3 separate regions of the Homo sapiens genome follow, and regions 2 and 3 are each linked to region 1. Evidence: promoter capture Hi-C in human tissues and cell types (Jung and others, 2019). All regions are on one chromosome and are shown on one strand. The core of a region is centred on a gene start or on the middle of the fragment in contact, and the rest is flanking DNA. Distances in the headings are between cores, read along the strand shown. Region 1 holds the start of C1orf220 (chromosome 1 putative open reading frame 220). Region 2 overlaps RASAL2 (RAS protein activator like 2). Region 3 overlaps RASAL2 (RAS protein activator like 2).

What was found. The method cuts DNA at HindIII sites, captures the fragments that hold promoters and counts their contacts. A contact is called where the count stands out against the background at its distance.
Region 2: a contact is called between a fragment that was not itself captured here and the fragment with the promoter of C1orf220 in region 1, in 3 of the 25 tissues and cell types used here (psoas muscle, small bowel and spleen).
Region 3: a fragment that was not itself captured here is called in contact with the fragment with the promoter of C1orf220 in region 1 in 3 of the 25 tissues and cell types used here (IMR-90 fibroblasts, adrenal gland and dorsolateral prefrontal cortex).

The regions. Positions count from the first base shown.
Region 1 is chr1:178,541,255-178,544,477 of GRCh38, forward strand. It overlaps C1orf220 (chromosome 1 putative open reading frame 220), which reads left to right and starts at 1,542. Exons shown (of 3, transcript NR_033186.1): 1 at 1,542-1,631. It overlaps LOC124904460 (a long non-coding RNA gene), which reads right to left and starts at 1,391. Exons shown (of 2, transcript XR_007066748.1): 1 at 780-1,391; 2 at 1-572. RefSeq lists an enhancer at 1,237-1,296 and silencers at 1,347-1,676, 1,707-1,776. The HindIII fragment of the contact is 22,776 bases long and covers 1-3,223 here.
Region 2 is chr1:178,290,189-178,293,411 of GRCh38, forward strand. All of the region lies in intron 2 of RASAL2 (RAS protein activator like 2), which reads left to right. Among named protein-coding and RNA genes, the nearest start is that of RASAL2, 200 kb to the left of the region's middle. The HindIII fragment of the contact is 3,441 bases long and covers 1-3,222 here.
Region 3 is chr1:178,352,697-178,355,919 of GRCh38, forward strand. The region is part of intron 3 of RASAL2 (RAS protein activator like 2); the gene reads left to right. Among named protein-coding and RNA genes, the nearest start is that of CLEC20A, 140 kb to the right of the region's middle. The HindIII fragment of the contact is 3,225 bases long and covers 63-3,223 here.

The sequences.
Region 1 (3,223 bases), core at 292-2,791:
GCTTATTTCTCTCTTTCCCTCATGCACCACACCCAAGCTCATCAGCAATTCCTGTCCATTCCACCTTCAGATACAGATCACAAATCTGACCTCCTCTCCCCATCTCTGTTGCTACCCTACTCGCCTGGGCCGCATGGTCACTTGTGGTGGTCTCCTAACTGCTCCCCTTGTGTCTACCATGGCCATCATCCCCACACCAGCTCTCCAGGTGGCAGCCAGAGTGATCTTACAAAACCGTAGGTCAGGTCATTGCCCCCTGTCAGACTCAAGCCCATCACAGCCCTTGCTATGCTGACAGGCCCATCCCACCCCAGCCCGCTCCCCCCACCACCTGCCCCCCTCCGCCACCTCACCTGTGCCTTCTGCACGCCTCTCCCACCACTCCCCCTCCCTCCCTTTACTCTGGCCACTCTGAATGTCACTGGTCCTCCTTGAGCCCTCCTGAGCCCTCTGCCCAGAGTAATGCCAGAGTGGAGGCCACAGCTGAAGGCAGAGGCTGTTGGCCTGGGGTGGAGAGGGGAGATTCCTCTGGGTGGAAGGTGACATTGGGCAGCCTTGGATGAAGTGAATACCTGGTGTGGGGAAGCAAAAATAAATAGAGAAACAAACGGATTAATTTTGCTTCTTTCCAGGGACTTGATTTTCTACAAGTGCTGCTCCAAGAGGCTTCTACACCCCCGCAGGGAGGCAAGCACCGTTTTGAGGTGGCCGGGCTGGCGAGGAGGTGCAGACCCCAGCCAGCTGGAGGGGCTCTGCCCTGATGGCGTTCCCACTCCCACCTCATTCGCAGGGCGCCGGGGAGGGCTGCAGGTGTTCTATTCCCACCCGGCTTGCAGCGCAAGGAGGGGAATCGCCTGACACCTTCCCCTTCTCCTCTGCCCCGCTTCCTTTCTCTGCTCCCACAGGTGGAAGTCACCAGCGGAAACAACCCTTCACTGTATGGAGGGCTGGGAGAGAGGGGCCAAGAGGGCCCCGGGAGAGCCACTGGGCGGCAGGCAAGGGGCGGGGCAGTCTCCCTTCCGGCTTCCGGGACCGAAGGGTGAAGGGCAAGGGGAGCTCAGGGAATGAACGAGTGCTCCCGACTAATGTTTAACCCACGACTCCGAGACTCCGACTGGTCACAGTCCTGCAGACCTCCAGGTCCTGCACAGGCGACGCAGCGCTCCACTGGCCCGGAATGCGCACCCCGGGGGAAATGGAAAGTGCCATTGAAATGTCAGATGTCACCGTCTTCATCAGCACTCTTGGAATTTTGGCCAAAGTGGCTTCTTCTTTTGCTGAGACTTGACTCACTCCCGGCAGAGGGATGATAGCGGCCTTGCCCCGAGCGTTTATCCGGCTGCAGGCGTCATTCTTGGTCGCCTGTGTGTCCAGAGCCCCAGCGCAGGAAGGGAGCGCAATTCCCACCGCGCCCGCTGGGTGGCGCTAGCGCCGCACCGTGTCCCGGGATGAGGGGAAACCGCGCTGCCCAGTCAGTACCCCGACGCCCCCGCGCCCCCGCCGGGCCCCGCGCGCTGCAGCCACCGCCTCTTCTCGGCTTCCTCTTGCTTTACAGTAACTCTCCTCCTGGGGAAAAGGCTTTTCACGGAGCAGGCTCGGAGCCTACGGGGCTGGCCTCGGACTGGATGGGGGTAAGGACGGGTGGCGGCGCTCGCGCCGAGCGAACGGAGGGCTCAGGCGGCCGGTGATCAGGGACGGGCTGCGGCCGCCGTCTGGGGTGAGAGGCCCACCCAGAGCTCTGGGCCAGGGCTCGCGGCTCTCGTGCAGATGCTGGGCCGGGAGGTGTGGGGAGGGGGCTTCCCAGGCGGGGCAACCGGAGGGGAATGGGGTGTGCAGGAGGGAGGGGAGGCGTGGAGCGCCCGGCCTGCAGGCACTGGGCGGCGCTCTCCAGCCTCCTCTTCTCCCGCCGGGTGCCTGGTGGCTTGGCCTCCCCTCCAGAGCTTCGCATATCCTGGCGGGAGCCGGCGCTCTCTCTCCATACTTAGGACTTGACCCTTATTCCACACCCGGGCAGGGAATCATTTGCCCAATCCGAATTTGATTTTCTGCTTGTGAGAGGAGAAACTGGTGACAGTGTCGCATGGACACTGTCGGGGAAGCCGAGACGTAGACCTGGAAGCCTGTACCAGAGGCCTTGTGGACAGCTTTGGAGCATGCATCTTAAGGCACACCACCGGTTTCTGCTGCTTTGGCACAGCCACGCAGCACCTAGGATGCTTCTCTGCACGCAGCAGAGGCCTAATCCGTGCACCCTCTGACGGTGTTGGAGGGAGCTGGGGAGCAACATCAGATTAATAGCCCCTGGGCTATTTGTATGACGTGCAGATTTCACCCTCTCATTCTTAAAGGGTGAAAGGCTGCAATTCAGAAAGGCGAAGATGGGGCCCAGGAATCTGCAATCTGCGTGGGGTTTTTTTTTTTTTTATGAAGTCTTGTTCTGTCGCTCAGGTTGGGGTGCAGTGGCGCGATCTGTGCTCACCGCAACCTGTCTTCCAGGTTCAAGCGATTATCCTGCCTCAGCCTTCTGAGTAGCTGGGACTACAGGTGCATGACACCACACCTGGCTAATTTTTGTATTTTTAGTAGAGATGGGGTTTCACCATGTTCGCCAGGCTGGTCTTGAACTCCTGACCTCAAGTGATACGCCCACCTTGGCCTCCCAACGTGCTGGGATTACAGGCATGAGCCACCGCGCCTGGCCAGAGTTTGCATTTTGTTGTTGTCGTTTGTTTGTTTGAGACGGAGTCTCGCTCTGTGGCCCAGGCTGGAGTGCAGTGGCGCCATCTCGACTCACTGCAACCTCTGCTTCCCAGGTTCAAGCGATTCTCCTGCCTCAATCTCCCAAGTAGCGGGGATTAACAGGCGTGCCACCACCATGCCTGGCTAAATTTTTTATTCTTAGTAGAGACAGGGTTTCTCACGTTGGGCAGGCTGGTCTCAAGCTCCTGATCTGCCCGCCTTGGCCTCCCAGAGTGCTGGGATTACAGGTGTGAGCCACCGCGCCTGGCCTGTTTTGTTTTCCTAAATCCAGAAGTTCTGATTCAAGCCTAAACCTGCCACTTCCATTCCCAATCCTCTGAGCTTCATGAGCTCCAGACACAGGGCTGTTAATCACAATTTCTTTAATTCTTTATATCTCTTGTGGAATTAGAGGAGTAGATGTTCTTTCTTTTTGGGAAAAACATTAGAAAATGCCTACATGTCTTTATTGAAAGAACTTAAA
Region 2 (3,223 bases), core at 252-2,751, 250 kb before region 1:
CCACCAGTTCTTAGAACAGTTCCTGATGAAACATAGGAAACTCTCAATAAATATTTGTTGAATGAATGTTGCAAAAGCCAAATTAAAAACTTTTATTTCTGAATGTCTATTTCCTTAATATAAGTTGAATAGAAAATATCTTCTATCCTTTCTTTCCATGATATATCTACCCAGAACATGTAACTTAATTCTTTATTTTTCTAAAACTAATAAAAAGAGAAAAATAATTGATGCGGTGCTTTTCCACAGTTGAATACATGATTCCATCTTTATTTATTGAGCACCTATCATTATTTGTAGTATTGTGGACACAAAGATGCAGTTTTGTTGAGAGGTAAAATAAAGTTAAAACCATTTGGAATTAGACAGCAGTGGTAGTTGCACAACGTTGTGAATGTACTAAATGCTGATGAATTATTCACTTTAAAATAGTAAATTTTATGTTATATAAATTTTGCTTCAGTAAGTTTATTTTTATTTATTTTTTTGTTTGTTTTTTGTTTTTGAGATGGAGTCTTGCTATGTCACCCAGGCTGAAGTGCGGTGGTGCGATCTCGGCTCGCTGCAAGCTCCGCCTCCTGGGTTCACGCCATTCTCCTGCCTCAGCCTCCCAAGTAGCTGGGACTACAGGCGCCCACCACCACGCACGGCTAATTTTTTTGTATTTTTAGTAGAGACAGGGTTTCATCGTGTTAGCCAGGATGGTCTCGATCTCCTGACCTCGTGATCCGCCTGCCTCAGCCTCCCAAAGTGCTGGGATTATAGGTGTGAGCCACCACACCCAGCCAAGTTTAGTTTTTAATTGTAATATAACCATAAGAGATTAACTGAGATATGGCCTAGGATGGATTATAGTATGGAGTGGAGAATGCCAAAAAAGTGTTTTACAGAGAAATTTATGCTTGGACTGTATCTTAAGGGACAAATAAGGGCTCATGAGGAGAAAAAGAAGGGAAGGACATTCTGAGTGTATATAATGATACAAAGTCAAGAAACATATGTCTCTTTGGCAAACTGAAAAATATTCAGAGTTCATGGAACATAGTTTGCAAGAGGAAAAGTGATAGCTAGCAAGAACTAGGTAATGAAGAACCTTGAAGGCTATGATGAGGAATTTGGATTTTATTCCGGAAATGATCTGGACCAGGGAAAGGGTATTTAGCAAGGTAATGACATCATCAGATTTGCTTCTTAGAGAAGTAACTCTGTGGATTATATGGAAAATGAAGTGAAAGGGATTAGAAGCAAATAGATGAGTTACAAGATTGCTGCAGTAGACCAGGTGAGGAATAATGAAGGGATAAATTTACAAAACAGTTTACAAAAACAGTTTAATGCCCTCAGACAGGTGTTTATGTTCTGCCATTATTATATGGGGAAAATTGAATTAAATCTCTAGGAAAAGAAAATGTGAAGCCATTGCTTTACATTGCTTTACTTGAATAAGTTTGATTTTCTGTTAATTTCATTACATGAAAAGATTATAAATCAATTTCTTGTGTAGGAACCAGAATATGCTGTCACCCTTCTACCTTTCACCCACACTTAAGAATTATAAAGAATGTGGGCCGGGCACGGCGGCTCACACCTGGAATCCCAGCACTTTTGGAGGCCGAGGCAGGTGGATCACGAGGTCAGGAGTTCGAGACCAGCCTGACCAATATGGTGAAATCCTGTCTCTACGAAAAATACAAAAATTAGCTGGACATGGTGTCGGGTGCCTGTAACCCCAGCTACTCGGGAGGCTGAGGCAGGAGAAATCCTTTGAACTCGGGAGGTGGAGGTTGCAGTAAGTTGAGATCGCACCATTGCACTCCAGCCTGGGTGACTGGGCAAGACTTTGTCTCAAAAAAAAAAAAAAAAAAAAAAGAATTATAAAGAATTTAACTCTTAATCCTTGGAATTTTGCATTGAATAATTTAGAATTTCTTAAAATGAGTTTAAGGAATTTCCTGCTAAAATTATCTAAAAAGATGGTTTTAAACTTTAATTAAATCATCATGGGGGTGTTTATTGCTGTGTTAAAAAATTAATTAAAAGGGTTCTGTAAGGATTTAAACTGAATCCTTAGCCAGGCACTGCTGGAATGTGGGAGGATTATATTAGTCTAGTATCACTCATGTATTAAGTCAGTGTGTGGCATCTTTTAATGCTTTCTCTTAACTCTACATGTTTCTTGTCAGAACTGGGGAAAAGTCTGTTTGAGGAGTATACATGGGAAGAGTGTTAAATATTCCAATGACCAATCTGGGAATGTGGCAGAAGGGTAGATTGGGGCAGAATGCTGAAAGAGAAGCTTGCTGGGAGTGTCACCTTGACAAATGACTTATTGGTTCAGTAAACTGCTTCATGCAAATTGTGCCAAATAGATATTGCTTATGTGCTATGAAATATACTTTCTTGCCTGGGTACCAGGAAAGGCCCCAACTGGCTTGATACCAGCCCAGTTCAAAGAGGGCACAGGAGGCCATTTGACTTTCATTTTGCTTGCAAGAGATGAGACCAAGTAAATTTGAGATTAAGGAGTTGAGGGAAATGGTAGAGAAGACAAACATGAACCCCTCAGAGGTACAGCCATTATAAAAATACAAAAGCTGAATTTATGAGTTTATTTCTTTTGGCAATAACAGTCTATTAGGCAGGGTCCATTTGACTCCATTTTTCTTAATGCAAACTCTACTTTCTATATTTAGAATGTTTAAGGCTGGATTCTGGTGTATAGGCAGCAAGGCATTTAAAATGACACTTTTAAATGTTTTAAAACATTTTTCTTTTGAAAGTGTTTACACTCAGATATGTTGATGAAAATATCAGTCTTTGTGCAAATAGCTAAAAATTAACTGGTATTTATTCTGGGGTGAGCTACCTATGGCATATTTCATTCAGAACCACTTTTAAATTATTCAATAGATATATAATATGCCCTTATATGTTATTCACTGTGTTAGGAGTTACAAAGCACAAGACAGATCTTCTTTCCTCTTTCTCCCCCGTAACAAATTTAGTGGTAAAAATAAGACAATTTTAAAGTGACATTTGATAAATAACACAAGTAAATGGATAGAATAAGAGAGAGAAATCCATTAATTATAAAAAGAACCTTAGCCTAACTAAATATGTCATTAAGATGCCACTGGCAATGGGGAATTACCAAAGGAAAGCTTAATAAAAGAAGCAATTTGATCAAAGTTAGGTGTTATAAATATTAATCTGTAGGACGTAT
Region 3 (3,223 bases), core at 425-2,924, 190 kb before region 1:
CCATGAGGGCTCTGGCCCTGCATTAGGCTTCTGTCTGGACATCCAGGCTTTTCCGTACATTCTCTGAAATCTAGGCAGAGGCTCCCAAGCCTCAGCTCTTGCACTCTGTGTACCCACAGGCTTAACACCATGTATTTAAGGCTTTCAGCTTGTACTGTCTGAAGCAGCAGCCTAAGCTGTACCTGGGTCCCTTTGAGCCATGGCTGGAGTTAGACAGCTGGGACACAGAGAGCAGTGTCCTGAGGCTGCATGGGGCAGCAGACCCTGGGCCTGGCCCACAGAACCATTTTGTTTTCTTGGGCTTACAGGCCTGTGATGGGAGGGGCTGCTGCCAAGGTCTCAGAAATGCCTGCAAGGCCTTTTCCCTAGTGTCTTGGCTATCAGTACTTGGCACCTTTTTACTTATGCAAATTTCTGCAACCTGCTTGAATTCCTCCCCTGAAAATGGGCTCTTCTCTTCTACCACATGGCCAGGCTGCAAATTTTTCAAGCTTTTACTGTCCATTTCCCCTTTAAATATAAGTTCCAGTTTTACGTCATGTCTTTGCTCATGCGTATGAGCATAGGTTGTTAGAAGCAGCCAGGCTACATCTTGATTACTTTGATGCTTAGAGATTTCTTCTGCCAGATATACTAAATCATCACGCTCAAGTTCAAAATTCCGTAGATCCCTAGGACAGGGGCAGAAGGCCACCAGGTTCTTTGCTAATGCATAACAAAAGTGACCTTTGCTCCAGTACCCAATAAGTTCCTCATCTCCATCTGAGACCTCTTCAGCCTGGACTTCACTGTTTATATCACTATCAGTATTTTGGTCACAACCATTTAACCAGTCTCTAGGGAGTTCCAAATTTTCCCTCATCTTCCTGTCTTCTTCTCAACCCTCCACACTCTTCCAGCTTCTACCAGTTACCAAATTCCAAAGCTTCTTACATATTTTAAGGTATCTTTATAGCAGTGCCCAACTCTTCAGTACTAATTTTTTGGCTATGATGTAATCCAGTATAACACAACTGTAATCATGATAGTGACTATACGTCACCTTGGCCATGTAATGTAACCTAATCAGTGGAGTGGCTATCCCATCATATTACAGATTCCAGGCCCCTGAGGGTAGAGAATTATACAAGGGTGTGGTGGCTCATGCCTGTAGTCCCAGCTGCTCAGGAGGCTGAGGTGGGTGGATCACTGGAGCCCAGGAGGTCAAGGCTACAGGGTGAGCCAAGATTGTGCCACTGCACTCCAGCTTGGGTGACAAAAATGAAACCCTGTCCAAAAAAAAAAGAAGAAGGAAGATACATTTTCAAATTACAAATTTTTTTCAGTAAAAGAGACTACACACATCAGCTACTTTTATACCACCTAGCAATGACACATCATGAAAGGACAATTACAGGGAGTTTTACTCATTATTATAGTTCCAGAAATCCTAAAAAAAATATTAGCAAATGGAATAATACATTATGACTAAAGTTGGGTTTATAACACAAAATGCAAAGTAGATTTAATATTAGAAAGTTAGAATAGTTTACCATTAATGAACTAAAGGAGAAAAATCTTAAAATCATCTCGATTGAGCAAAAATGACATTTAATAAAATTTAACAACTATTCATAAGAACTCTTAGCAAAACAACAATAGAAAAGAATTTCTTTACTCTGATTAGTGATATCTACAAAAACCCATCGACAAATATATGTAATGGTGAAAAGCTTTCCCTTTTAGATGAGGACCAAGGCTGGGATGTCCATTATTATCCTTGCTATTCCACATTGTATTGGAGGTCTCAATCAATACAGTAATCAATACAGTAAGGTCTCAATCAATACAAGAAAATATGTAAGGATTAGAAAATTAAAACTTCACAAGTGATGTGATCATTTAGAAAATCCAGTAAAAACTTTACAGGCATTGAGTTTAGCAAGTTGCTAGATAACAAGATCCATAAACAAAACCTAATTGCATTTCCATAGATCAACAATAAACTGAAAGCAAATTTTTTGAGATACTGTTTACAATAACAAAATGTAATAACCTAGGAGTAAATCTTTTAAAAGATGTGTAAAACATCTAAAAAGTAAACTATAAAGCTTTATTAGGAGAAATTTAAGAATAATCTAAAGTAGATATATACTACGTTTCTGGAGTTGGAAAACTGGTTTGTATGGTGTTAACTTTTACCCTAAATTCCTTTATAGATTCAATGTAATTCCAGTTTTAAAAATCTTGTGAAGCCTGGGCAACATGATAAGCCCCATCTCTACAAAAAATTTGAAAATTAGCTGGGCGTGGTGGCACATGCCTGTGGTCCCAGCTACTTGGGAGACTGAAGCAGGGAGGATCACTTGAGCCAGGAATTCTAGATTGCAGCGAGCTGTGATCACACCCCTGCACTCCAGCCTGGGTGACAGAGCAAGACCCTGTCTGTCTGTCTTTCTCTCTTTCTTTCTAGGTATCTATATATTTGTATATATTAGGATAGCCAAAAACTCTTTTAGAAACCTAATTTAGGAGGACTTGCTCTGTCAGCTATTAAGGCTCTTTATAAAACTATATTAATTGAGACAAAGTGGTATTAGTGTTAGAAATAGACCAATGGAACAGAATAAAGAGTCCAAAAACAGACCTGTGCATATATGTACATTTTACTTATGATAAAATTGACACTGCAGAGTGGTGGGGAAATTAAGATCTTTTCAATAAATGATCCTGGCTCATCTGGAGATCCATATGGAAAAATAAAGTGGAAGTGGATTATTTCTTAACAATTTACATAAAAATGAATTCCATCTAAATTGTAGACCTACGTGTAAAACACCAAATAGTAATAATACCACTTTTAGAATATATTATAGCATCTTCATGACCTGAGGATAAAGAAGTAATTATTAAATCAAATAGAAAAAGCACCAATTATAAAGAAGAAAAAGGTGATAATGTTTATTAATATTAATAACTTCTGTTTGTCAAAAGACACTACTGAAAGTGCAAAAAGTCAAGCTATATAAACCAACAAAGAAATTATACCAGAATATTTCAAGCATCCCGACAAATTGAGAAAGACAAAGCCCAATAGAAAAATGGGCAGAGACTTAATAGGCACTTCACAAAAGAATATAACCAAATGGCTGTATACATTTAAAGAGGTGCTCAGCCTTATCAAGGAATCCCAAGTTAAAACCACAACAATGGGGCCAGGCGCGGTGGCTCACGCCTGTAATCC